2 separate regions of the Homo sapiens genome follow, and region 1 is linked to region 2. The links are contacts of gene promoters, found by promoter capture Hi-C in blood cells and fetal thymus (Javierre and others, 2016). All regions are on one chromosome and are shown on one strand. The core of a region is centred on a gene start or on the middle of the fragment in contact, and the rest is flanking DNA. Distances in the headings are between cores, read along the strand shown.

Region 1 (5,627 bases), core at 2,934-5,433, 210 kb before region 2:
TCACCTTACTAATTTTTATGTATTCAAGTTAATTGGTTCTTTGTTTTTTCATGGCTTCTGAAATTTGAATCAGGATTAGATAGGAGCAGATTGCGTTTGGTAGAGTTTCTTTGGTCAGTTATTTGAACTCTTGCTGCCTTATAATCCACTTTGATCTTTTTACCCCATTAGAATAGTTTTGTCTGAATTCTGCCAATGGTCAATGGTTTCTTTCTTTTTTTTTTTCTTTTTTTTTTTTTTTTGAGACGGCGTCTCGCTCTGTCGCCCAGGCTGGAGTGCAGTGGCGTGATCTCAGCTCACTGCAAGCTCCGCCCCCTGGGTTCACGCCATTCTCCTGCCTCAGCCTCCTGAGTAGCTGGGAATACAGGCGCCTGCCACTACGCCCAACTAATTTTTTGTATATTTAGTAGAGACGGGGCTTCACCGTGTTAGCCAGGATGGCCTCGATCTCCTGACCTCATGATCCACCTGCCTCGGCCTCCCAAAGTGCTGAGATTATAGGCGTGAGCCACTGCGCCCGGCCCTGCCAATGGTTTCTAATTTAATTGTTGCAGAAATGAAATGATTTGTTTTCTTCATAGAAGACTTCTAAGTGGCAATTTGGGCCCCATCTCATTTGTTCATAACCAACAGCCTAACATAGTATGAATTGTATCACTTACAGTTGATCTTCCCATTGTATTTGATTAGATACAGGCGTTCTAAAATGCAAATGTTTAAAAAATACAGATAGAACTTGAAATTGAACAAAATTAGATACAACTGAAGCTGAAAATGGACACTTGATTTTTAAAAATTGTAATAAAATGATCTAGATTGTATACACCATCTGTTACAAGTTGTATGTGAATAAGGATTTTGTGCCATGTTGGTTGTGAGTACTCTGGGTTTTAAACCAGTTTTTGCATCGAATATAACTTTAATTATGCTCAGTACACGTGGATGTGTTTTTTGGATATATCCACACACAGTGTACTTGCATGTGTATCTTCATCTTATTTATTGTTTGGTAAGGGACACATTGCTCAGCTTCCTGGATATCTTCCTAGTCTTAGAGGGGCCTCAGTGGTAGAGTTCTTATCAGAACCTAAGGGTGATGACCTCTGGCCTGTGACATGGCATCTGCCTGAACATGAGTGTGCCACAAGATTGTATCTAAGGTGGTCTCAATCTCTTTTCTTCCTTCAGACTGCCTTGCTTGTCCTTTGCTGGCATCTGAGGACTTGTCCTGTGGAATGAGGCTAGAAAGAGGCGTCTCTGTATTTCCCCACTGTGCATCTACTTGTACCTCCAATCTTTCCCTTTACCACCCATACATGGACATATGCTTCCAGTTCTCTGGACATATGTTTTCTGTCTTCACCACTAGGGTATATACCTATGGGTGGAATTGCTGGGTCATGTGGTACCTCTATAATTAACTTTTTGAGGAACTGTCAAACAGTTTTCCAAAGTGGTTGTACCATTTTATATTTTACAGATCCACCAGAAATGTATGAGGGTGCTTATTTCTCTGTATCCTCATCAACCCTTGTTATTGTCTGTTTTGGTTTTGTTTTTTAATTGTAGCTATCCTACTGGGTATGAAGTAGGATTTCATTGTTTTGATTTGCATTTCCCTCATGACTAATAACATTGAGCATCTTTTTATGTCCTTATTTTCCACTTGTGTATCTTCTTTGGCGAAATGCCTATTCAAGTCCATATGCATGTTTTAATTGGGTTGTTTGCCTTTTTATTGTGGAGTTGTAAGACTTCTTTACGTATTCTGGATACTACACCCTTGTCAGATACATTATTTGCAGATATTTTCTCCCATTTTATGGGTTGTCTTCACTTTCTTGATACTACTCTTTGAAGCATAAAAGTTTTAAATTTTGATGAAGTCAATATTTTTTTTTTTTGCTTTGGCTGCTTGTGGTGTTATATCTAAAACCCGTTGCCTAACCCAAGATCACAGATTTTAACTCTTGCATTTAGGTTTTTGATCCATTTTGAGTTTAAAAAATTTATTATATGCTATGAAATAGTTGTCCAACTTCATTTTGAATTATTAGACCAGTTTCATTCTTTTGCATGTGAATACTCAGTTCTCATGGTACAATTACTTGAAAATACTATTCTTTTCCCATTGAATTGTCTTGGTACTCTTGTCTAAAATCAATTGATCATAAATATATGAGTTTGTTACTAGACTTTATTTTGAGATAGAGTCTCGCTCTGTTGCCAGGCTGGAGTGCAGTGACGCGATCTTGGCTCACTGCAACTTCTGCCTCCTGGGTTCAAGCGATTTCCTGCCTCAGCCTCCCGAGTAGCTGGAACTACAGGCACGCACCACCATACCTAGCTAACTTGTGTATTTTTAGTAGAAATATGGTTACCCCCTGTTGGCCAGGATAATGTCGATCTCTTGACCTCATGATCTGCCTGCCTCGGCCTCCCAGAGTGCTGGGATTACAGGTGTGAGCCACCATGCCTGGCCTGTTACTAGACTTTTTTTTTTTTGAGACAGAGTCTTGCTCTGTCCCCCAGGCTGGAGTGCAGTGGCAGGATCTCCACTCACTGCAAGCTCCACCTCCTGGGTTCACACCATTCTCCTGCCTCAGCCTCCCAAGTAGCTGGGACTACAGGCACCCGCCACCACACCCGGATAATTTTTTTTGTATTTTTAGTAGAGACGGGGTTTCACCATGTTAGCCAGGATGGTCTTGATCTTCTGACCTCGTGATCCACCCACCTCGGCCTCCCAAAGTGCTGGGATTACAGGCGTGAGCCACTGTGCCTGGCTGTTTTTAGACTTTTAATTCTGTTCCATTGATCTGTATAGATGCCTGTCCTTATGCCAGTACCACACTGTTTTGATTACTGTAGCTTTATAGTAAGTTCTGAAGATTTTATTCCTTGTTTTTGTTCTGTTCCTTCATTATTGACTTGGCTTTTTTGACAGTTTGATTATGACATCTAGGTGAGGCTGGCTCCCTTTTAGTTTATTTTACTTGGAATTCATTGAGCTTCTTGGGTGTAATTTTTTTCATGTCAAATTTGGAAAGTTTTTAGCCATTATTCTTTCAAATATTCTTTCTTCTTTTCTCTTCTGTATGTTGGTATGCTTAATAGTGTCCCTCAGGTTCTGTGACTCTGTTTATTTTTCTTCACTGTTTTTTCCTCCTGTTTCGCAGTTTGGGTAATCTCAATTGACCTGTCTTCAAGTTTGCTTGTTCTTTCTTCTAAATGCTAAAAAGTGGTTTTGAGCCCCTTTCATGAACGCTTATCTTTTCCCCCTTTTACTTTTGAACTCCAGAATTTGTATTTGATTCTTAAAAAAATGGTAATAATAATTTCTATCTCGTTATCAGTATCAATAGTGATACTGATATTTATTGATATTCTCTACTTAAAAGACGTTATTCCCATACTTTCCTTTAGTAATTTTTGCATAGTTTTCTTAGCTCTTTGAGCATATTTAAAATAGGTGATTTAGAGACTGTTTTCTGCTAAGTTCTTCATATGTGGGCTTCCTCAGGGACAGATTTTATTGATTGCTTTCTTTTTCCTATGTATGGGCCATACTTTGTTGTTTCTTTGTCTAATTTTTTTTTTTTTGCTGTTATTGAGAAATGGATTTTTAAATAACACAATGGGGTGACTCAGGAAATCAGATGCTCCTTTCTTCCCATGGTTGCTATTGGTACGTGATATAGTTGTTCTTGTTTAATGACTTTTCTGAACTAATTCTGTAAAGTTTGTATTCTTTATTGTGTCTGACCAGTGAAATCTGTACTTGGTGAACTTAGTGGCCAAGTAATTATTAGATGGCGATTTCCTTAAACTCCTGGGATCAGTAAACACCTGTTTTTGTCGAGGGGCTTCATCTACCTGTTGGAGCATACCTTCATTGCTTGGCCTAACAGTTAAAAACTGCCTTAGCCTTTATTTCCTGCTGATGTTGAGTCAAAGTCAGCCAGAGGTGAGAGCTTAAGGCCTTCTTAGGTTTTTCCTGAGTGTGCAGTGAAGCTCTGTACATTCATGTGTCTTTCTAGATTCCTGGGAAAATGTCAAAGCTTTTCAAAGCCCCCACGGACATTTTATTTCCCACCTTTGCCTTTGGTTTGCCTCAGTTGTTATCTGCCACCTCAGGAGGCTGCAAAGTTAAAACACTTGCCGTATTTTCAACAGACACTCCTGGGTTGGGAGGAAGGCTTTTCTGAGTTTAGCCAGAAACAGTCAGTCAGTCTTGCAAATGAGGTCTTACAGGGAACCATCAGACAGGTCAAATGATGACAGTTCTTTGAGAATGAAGCTTTGAAAGAGCTCTAAGAGCACTGTTTTCTCCAGCGATGGCTGCTACGCTGTACCAGGAATGCGGCCTGCTGAGAGCCTGGAGAGTGGGGATGGGTCTAGGCCAAATTAAAATATCACAGAGCTCACTGTTCTTACTGAGATGTGGTTGTTTTCCTTGAATTAATGCTCCCTGGGTTCCTGCAAACCTTTGGTTAGTTTCCAAAATCCATAAGAAGTTGATACTGACAATTTTTGCCAACTTTTTGGTTGCTTTTATGGAGGAGAGCTTTTTGGAGGCCTGTAGTAACCACCATTTTCACTGACATCCTTTGGATCAGGAATCTCTTAAATCTTTTTTGTTTTCCTGAGGGTTCTTGCTGCCCTTCTTTTTTATCTTGTTATCAAAAATAGTATACTTCATCATAACCTCAGAATTACCCAGATTCATTAATACTGAGTATTGTCTAGAAATCTCTTTCTGCCTGAACTCCACTCTAGACTGGTTATTTCCTGTTCTGCTGTATAGCTACACTCCTGGTATTTTCTTCCTGCGTTTATAGATTAAATGCAGTTTTTGGACTTGAGTTGGATATTCCTCTTTTTCAGTTTTCATCCTCATTTTGTTTTTCTCAAAGTGATATATAATGTAGAATTGTTGTATATCTTAAAATGCATTTATTTTAACTTTTCACTTATTTCTCAGTTTGGGTGTATGTAGAATTCTAGCTTAAAAATAATTTTCCCTTGTTAGGATTGAAAGGGATATCTTCTTACACTCTGTGTAATTGATTCTGGAAGTCTATTCCATCTCTTTGTGAGTAAGCTTTTTCTCCTCCTTGGAACTTTCAGGACCTTTTTAAAAACACCCAGTGTCATAAAATTTCATGAGTCTTTCATTCATTCTGCTTAGCTCTTGGTGGGACTTTTCAATCTGGAGGCATATTTTCCTTTGGCTCTGGAAAATTATCTTATTACTGTCATAATTTCTGGAATGCCAAATTGATTGCCTGAATTGATCTGTGTTTCTACCTTGATTTCTTTGACTTTATCTTCCAGCCTCTTTATTGAAGTTTAATTTTAGCTACTGTATTTTAAATTCTTGTGTTCTTTCTTTTTGGCCTAATTGTTCTATTTTCATATTTTATTCTGGTTATATGGATATAGTGTCTTCTCAGATCTCTGTGAAGACATAAAATAGAAATATTTTTGGATATCTTTTTTCCAAATTAGCTCTGTATTTTTTTTTAACTTGTTTTCATCTGCCTGTTTTTTCTCACAAGATGCAGTCTTCAGTTCTCTAGTTTTTTTTTTTTTTTTTTTTGAGACAGAATTTCACTCCTGTTGCT
Region 2 (5,153 bases), core at 1,012-3,511:
GCCTGTAATCCCAGCTACTTGGGAGGCTGAGGCAGGAGAATCACTTGAACCCAGGAGGCGGAGGTTGCAGTGAGCTGACACTGTGCCACTGCACTCCAGCCTGGGTGACAGAGCAAGACTCCATCTAAAATAAAATAAATAAATAAATAAATCAGCTGGGACATGTGTTGTTTTAAGACATATTAGTAGAGATGTCCCTTTAGTGTTGCAGCTGTTAGTCATTGGAAACTAGTGTGGGCATCCCAAGCAGGTGAGGTATAAGTCCTACAAGTGAAATCTCTGAGAATCTTAAGTACTAATGGGAAGGAAAAAGGAAAAAGAATCAGAGCCAAGTTGGCACCAAAAGTTCCATCTGAGAAAAGCAACAACACAGAGCAGTGAATGTAGGCCATGGTAAAGACTGCAAAGACCAAGAACCCCAAGAAGGAGCTAAAAGATAATGCAGCAATTCCGCTTCTGGGTAAATACCAAAAAAATGCGAGCAGGGTCTTGAAGAGATATTTGTACATCCATGTTCATAGCAGTATCATTCACAATGGCTGAAATGTGGAAGCAACCCAGGTGTCCACTGACAGATGAACAGATAAGCAAAATGTGGTGAATAATACAATGGATTATTCAGCCTTAAAAAGGAAAGAAATTCTGATATATGCAACAAGATGCATGAGCCTTGAGGACATTATGCTACATGAAATAAGCCAGACACACAAAAACTATATGATTCCATTTATCTAAGGTCGCCAGAAAAGTCAAAATCACAGAGACAAATTAGAATGGCAGTTGCCATGGGCTGGGGGAGAAGGGAATGTGTTTAATAGACACGAATTTGATAAAAAGGAGTTCTGGAGACGATTGACAGTGATGGCTGCACAACACTATCAATCTATTTCATATCAATGCACTCACTACACGCTTAAAGATAGTGAAGATAAATTTTGTGTACCATTTTACCACAATTAAAAATATTTTTTTAAAAGAACTCAAAGAAGCAGAAAGTTTCAACAAAATAACATTTTTTTTTTTTTACATCCAGCAAGTCCTTGGCAAAGAACTCTCATCAAGAACCAGCTGCACTGAAGCAGGGAAAACAGAATCCAAACGGCAGATTCCATCAGATTTTGAGACAAGATGACCATAGATACCGACCATGTAGGGTCCTCCTTCTTTCGTGCCTGAGTCACCCCAATCCCTCCCACGAATGGTCTGGAAGTGTCTGTGTTACTTCTAACACGTTCCAGCAATTAAAGCGCCCCAGAAACAAGTAAAAGCCTGTAAGCCCTACAGATCCCATGCTTCATTTGCATCTTCCGTGTGGAATCCTTTTGTACCACTAGTGTCCAACTAAAAAGCGTTAAACCTGGCTTTCAGTTCTAGCTGGTTGTGATATAACCTCTTGGTACCTCAGTGACTTCACCCATTAAAAACAAACAAAAAAAAGTATATCACTATCTCTCATACAGAATTGTTGGGAAGCCCCGCAAGAAAATCAAAATATGGCTCTCAAGATGCGGCACCCAAGCTCCCAGAGTCAGAATCACTGGGTGGGAAGTGTTGGTCTAAAATATAAATACCGAGGCCTCAATCTACTAATTCAGAACATCTTGGCATGAAGCTTGGAAATCTGCACTACTTCACAGTCTCCTTAAAATTTTTACACGACAGAAATTTGAAAAACACTGAGTAGAGAACTATATTCTAGAATGGTATAAGCTCTTAAAGAGCTAATGTTGGTTCCTCAAAGGTAGAGTCCACGGCCAGATTCCATTATAGGAGACCAAGCCCGGACAGCAGACCCCGGGCCCTCCCCACCCCGCCCCGCCTCTGACTCGGACACCAGCCTTCTCAGACCCCGGGCACTCGGCCACCCCGCCCTGCCCCTACCCTTGGCCTCCTCCACCCTCCCCTCATCCCTCCGCCGACCCCAGGCCCACTCCGACTCGGACCCCCACCCCAGTCCTCTCCGCCCGACCGCCACGGCCCACCAGCCTGTGCCGCTCACCTGGATCTCTGGAAAAAGCTGAAGGAAGACACATCGTATGCGGCTTTGAGCAGCACCACCTTGGCCTCGCCTTTGTAGAGGACGCTGAGGCTGTACAGCTTCATGGCTCCGCGCCCTCAGGCCGCCCGCCTGCCCAGCTGCGGGACCCGTTCTCAGGGAGCAGCGCGGCCGCCGCCCCTCGGGACCGCCGCCGCCTACCGGCCTCTCAGCAGCCGGCTGCTGACGGGGCCACCGCCGGCTTCCTCCTCCTGGCTCGCAATCCACTTCCGGATCCGGTCAGCCTGGTTGAGGGTTCTCATACTCCGGATGCAGAAATGTGAGCCCGGAAGTACAATGCAGCGAGGGGCGGGATGCCACGCCTCGCGTAAGCTTGGCCCCTCCCTGCTCGCCAGGTGGAGTCGGGCGCGCGGCGGGATACCGTACTGTCTTGTGCTGGGTGGTGCTGGGCCTCCCACAGCGGCCTGAACCCTTCTTTTTTTTTTTTTTCTTTTCTTTCTTTTTTTAAAGTAAGCATTTTTTTTATTATTATACTTTAAGTTTTAGGGTACATGTGCACAACGTGCAGGTTTGTTACATATGTATACATGTGCCATGTTGGTGTGCTGCACCCATTAACTCGTCATTTAGCATTAAGTATATCTCCTAATGCTATCCCTCCCCCCTCCCCCCACCCCACAACAGTCCCCGGTGTGTGATGTTCGCCTTCCTGTGTCCATGTGTTCTTATTGTTCAATTCCCACCTATGAGTGAGAACATGCGGTGTTTGGTTTTTTGTCCTTGCAATAGTTTGCTGAGAATGATGGTTTCCAGCTTCATCCATGTCCCTACAAAGGACATGAACTCATCATTTTTTATGGCTGCATAGTATTCCATGGTGTATATGTGCCACATTTTAGGAGGAGCTTGTACCATTCCTTCTGAAACTATTCCAATCAAAAGAAAAAGAGAGAATCCTCCCTAACTCATTTTATGAGGCCAGCATCATCCTGATACCAAAGGGTGGCAGAGAGAGACACAACAAAAAAAGAATTTTAGACCAATATCCTTGATGAACATTGAAGCAAAAATCCTCAGTAAAATACTGGCAAACCGAATCCAGCAACACATCAAAAAGCTTATCCACCATGATCAAGTGGGCTTCATCCCTGGGATGCAAGGCTGGTTCAACATACGAAAATCAGTAAACGTAATCCAGCATATAAACAGAACCAAAGACAAAAACCACATGATTATCTCAATAGATGCAGAAAAGGCCTTTGACAAAATTCAACAACCCTCATGCTAAAAACTCTCAATAAATTAGGTATTGATGGGACGTATCTCAAAATAATAAGAGCTATCTATGACAAACCCACAGCCAATATCATACTGAATGGACAAAAACTGGAAGCATTCCCTTTGAAAACTGGCACAAGACTGGGATGCCCTCTCTCACCACTCCTTTTCAACATAGTGTTGGAAGTTCTGGCCAGGGCAATCAGGTAGGAGAAGGAAATAAAGGGTATTCAATTAAGAAAAGAGGAAGTCAAATTGTCCCTGTTTGCAGATGACATGATTGTATATCTAGAAAACCCCATCGTCTCAGCCCAAAATCTCCTTAAGCTGATAAGCAACTTCAGCAAAGTCTCAGGATACAAAATCAATGTGCAAAAATCACAAGCAGTCTTATACACCAATAACAGACAGAGAGCCAAATCATGAGTGAACTCCCATTCACAATTGCTTCAAAGAGAATAAAATACCTAGGAATCCAACTTACAAGGGATGTGAAGGACCTCTTCAAGGAGAACTACAAACGACTGCTCAATGAAATAAAAGAGGATACAAACAAATGGAAGAACATTCCATGCTCATGGGTAGGAAGAATCAGTATCGTGAAAATGGCCATACTGCCCAAGGTAATTTATAGATTCAATGCCATCCCTATCAAGCTACCAATGACTTTCTTCACAGAATTGGAAAAAACTAAAGTTCATATGGAACCAAAAAAGAGCCCGCATTGCCAAGTCAATCCTAAGCCAAAAGAACAAAGCTGGAGGCATCACACTACCTGACTTCTAACTATACTACAAGGCTACAGTAACCAAAACAGCATGCTACTGGTACCAAAACAGAGATATAGAGCAATGGAACAGAACAGAGCCCTCAGAAATAATGCCGCATATCTACAAGCATCTGATCTTTGACAAACCTGACAAAAACAAGCAATGGGGAAAGGATTCCCTATTTAATAAATGGTGCTGGGAAAACTGGCTAGCCATATGTAGAAAGCTGAAACTGGATCCCTTCCTTACACCTTATACAAAAATTAATTCAAGATGGATTAAAGACTTACATGTTAGACCTAAAACCATAAAAACCCTAGAAGAAAACCTAGGCAATACCATTCAGGACATAGGCATGGGCAAGGACTTCATGTCTAAAACACCAAAAGCAATGGCAACAAAAGCCAAAATTGACAAATGGGATCTAATTAAACTAAAGAGCTTCTGCACAGCAAAAGAAACTACCATCAGAGTGAACAGGCAACCTACAGAATGGGAGAAAATTTTTGCAACCTACTCATCTGACAAAGGGCTAATATCCAGAATCTACAATGAACTCAAACAAATTTACAAGAAAAAAACAAACAACCCCATCAACAAATGGGCGAAGGATATGAACAGACACTTCTCAAAAGAAGACATTTATGTAGCCAAAAAACACATGAAAAAATGCTCATCATCACTGGCCATCAGAGAAATGCAAATCAAAACCACAATGAGATACCATCTCACACCAGTTAGAATGGTGATCATTAAAAAGTCAGGAAACAACAGGTGCTGGAGAGGATGTGGAGAAATAGGAACACTTTTACACTGTTCGTGGGACTGTAAACTAGTTCAACCATTGTGGAAGTCAGTGTGGCGATTCCTCAGGGATCTAGAACTGGAAATACCATTTGACCCAGCCATCCCATTACTAGGTATATACCCAAAGGATTATAAATCATGCTGCTATAAGGACACATGCACACGTATGTTTATTGTGGCACTGTTCACAATAGCAAAGACTTGGAACCAACCCAAATGAACCCTTCTTTTTGCTTGCGTTGTTGAAAGAAGGCAAGTCTATGGATAGGAATGAGTGAGGCACAGCTCCCTGAGGATGCCAT

The links. The method cuts DNA at HindIII sites, captures the fragments that hold promoters and counts their contacts. A CHiCAGO score of 5 or more calls a contact.
Region 1: a contact is called between a fragment that was not itself captured here and the fragment with the promoter of YKT6 in region 2, in 1 of 17 cell types (M1 macrophages). The highest score is 5.0, in M1 macrophages.

The regions. Positions count from the first base shown.
Region 1 is chr7:44,407,542-44,413,168 of GRCh38, reverse strand. All of the region lies in intron 3 of NUDCD3 (NudC domain containing 3), which reads left to right. Among named protein-coding and RNA genes, the nearest start is that of NUDCD3, 80 kb to the left of the region's middle. The HindIII fragment of the contact is 239 bases long and covers 4,064-4,302 here.
Region 2 is chr7:44,198,086-44,203,238 of GRCh38, reverse strand. YKT6 (YKT6 vesicular SNARE protein) reads right to left here and starts at 2,261. Exons shown (of 7, transcript NM_006555.4): 1 at 2,000-2,261. The coding sequence starts at 2,103. RefSeq lists a silencer at 2,085-2,154. The HindIII fragment of the contact is 756 bases long and covers 1,615-2,370 here.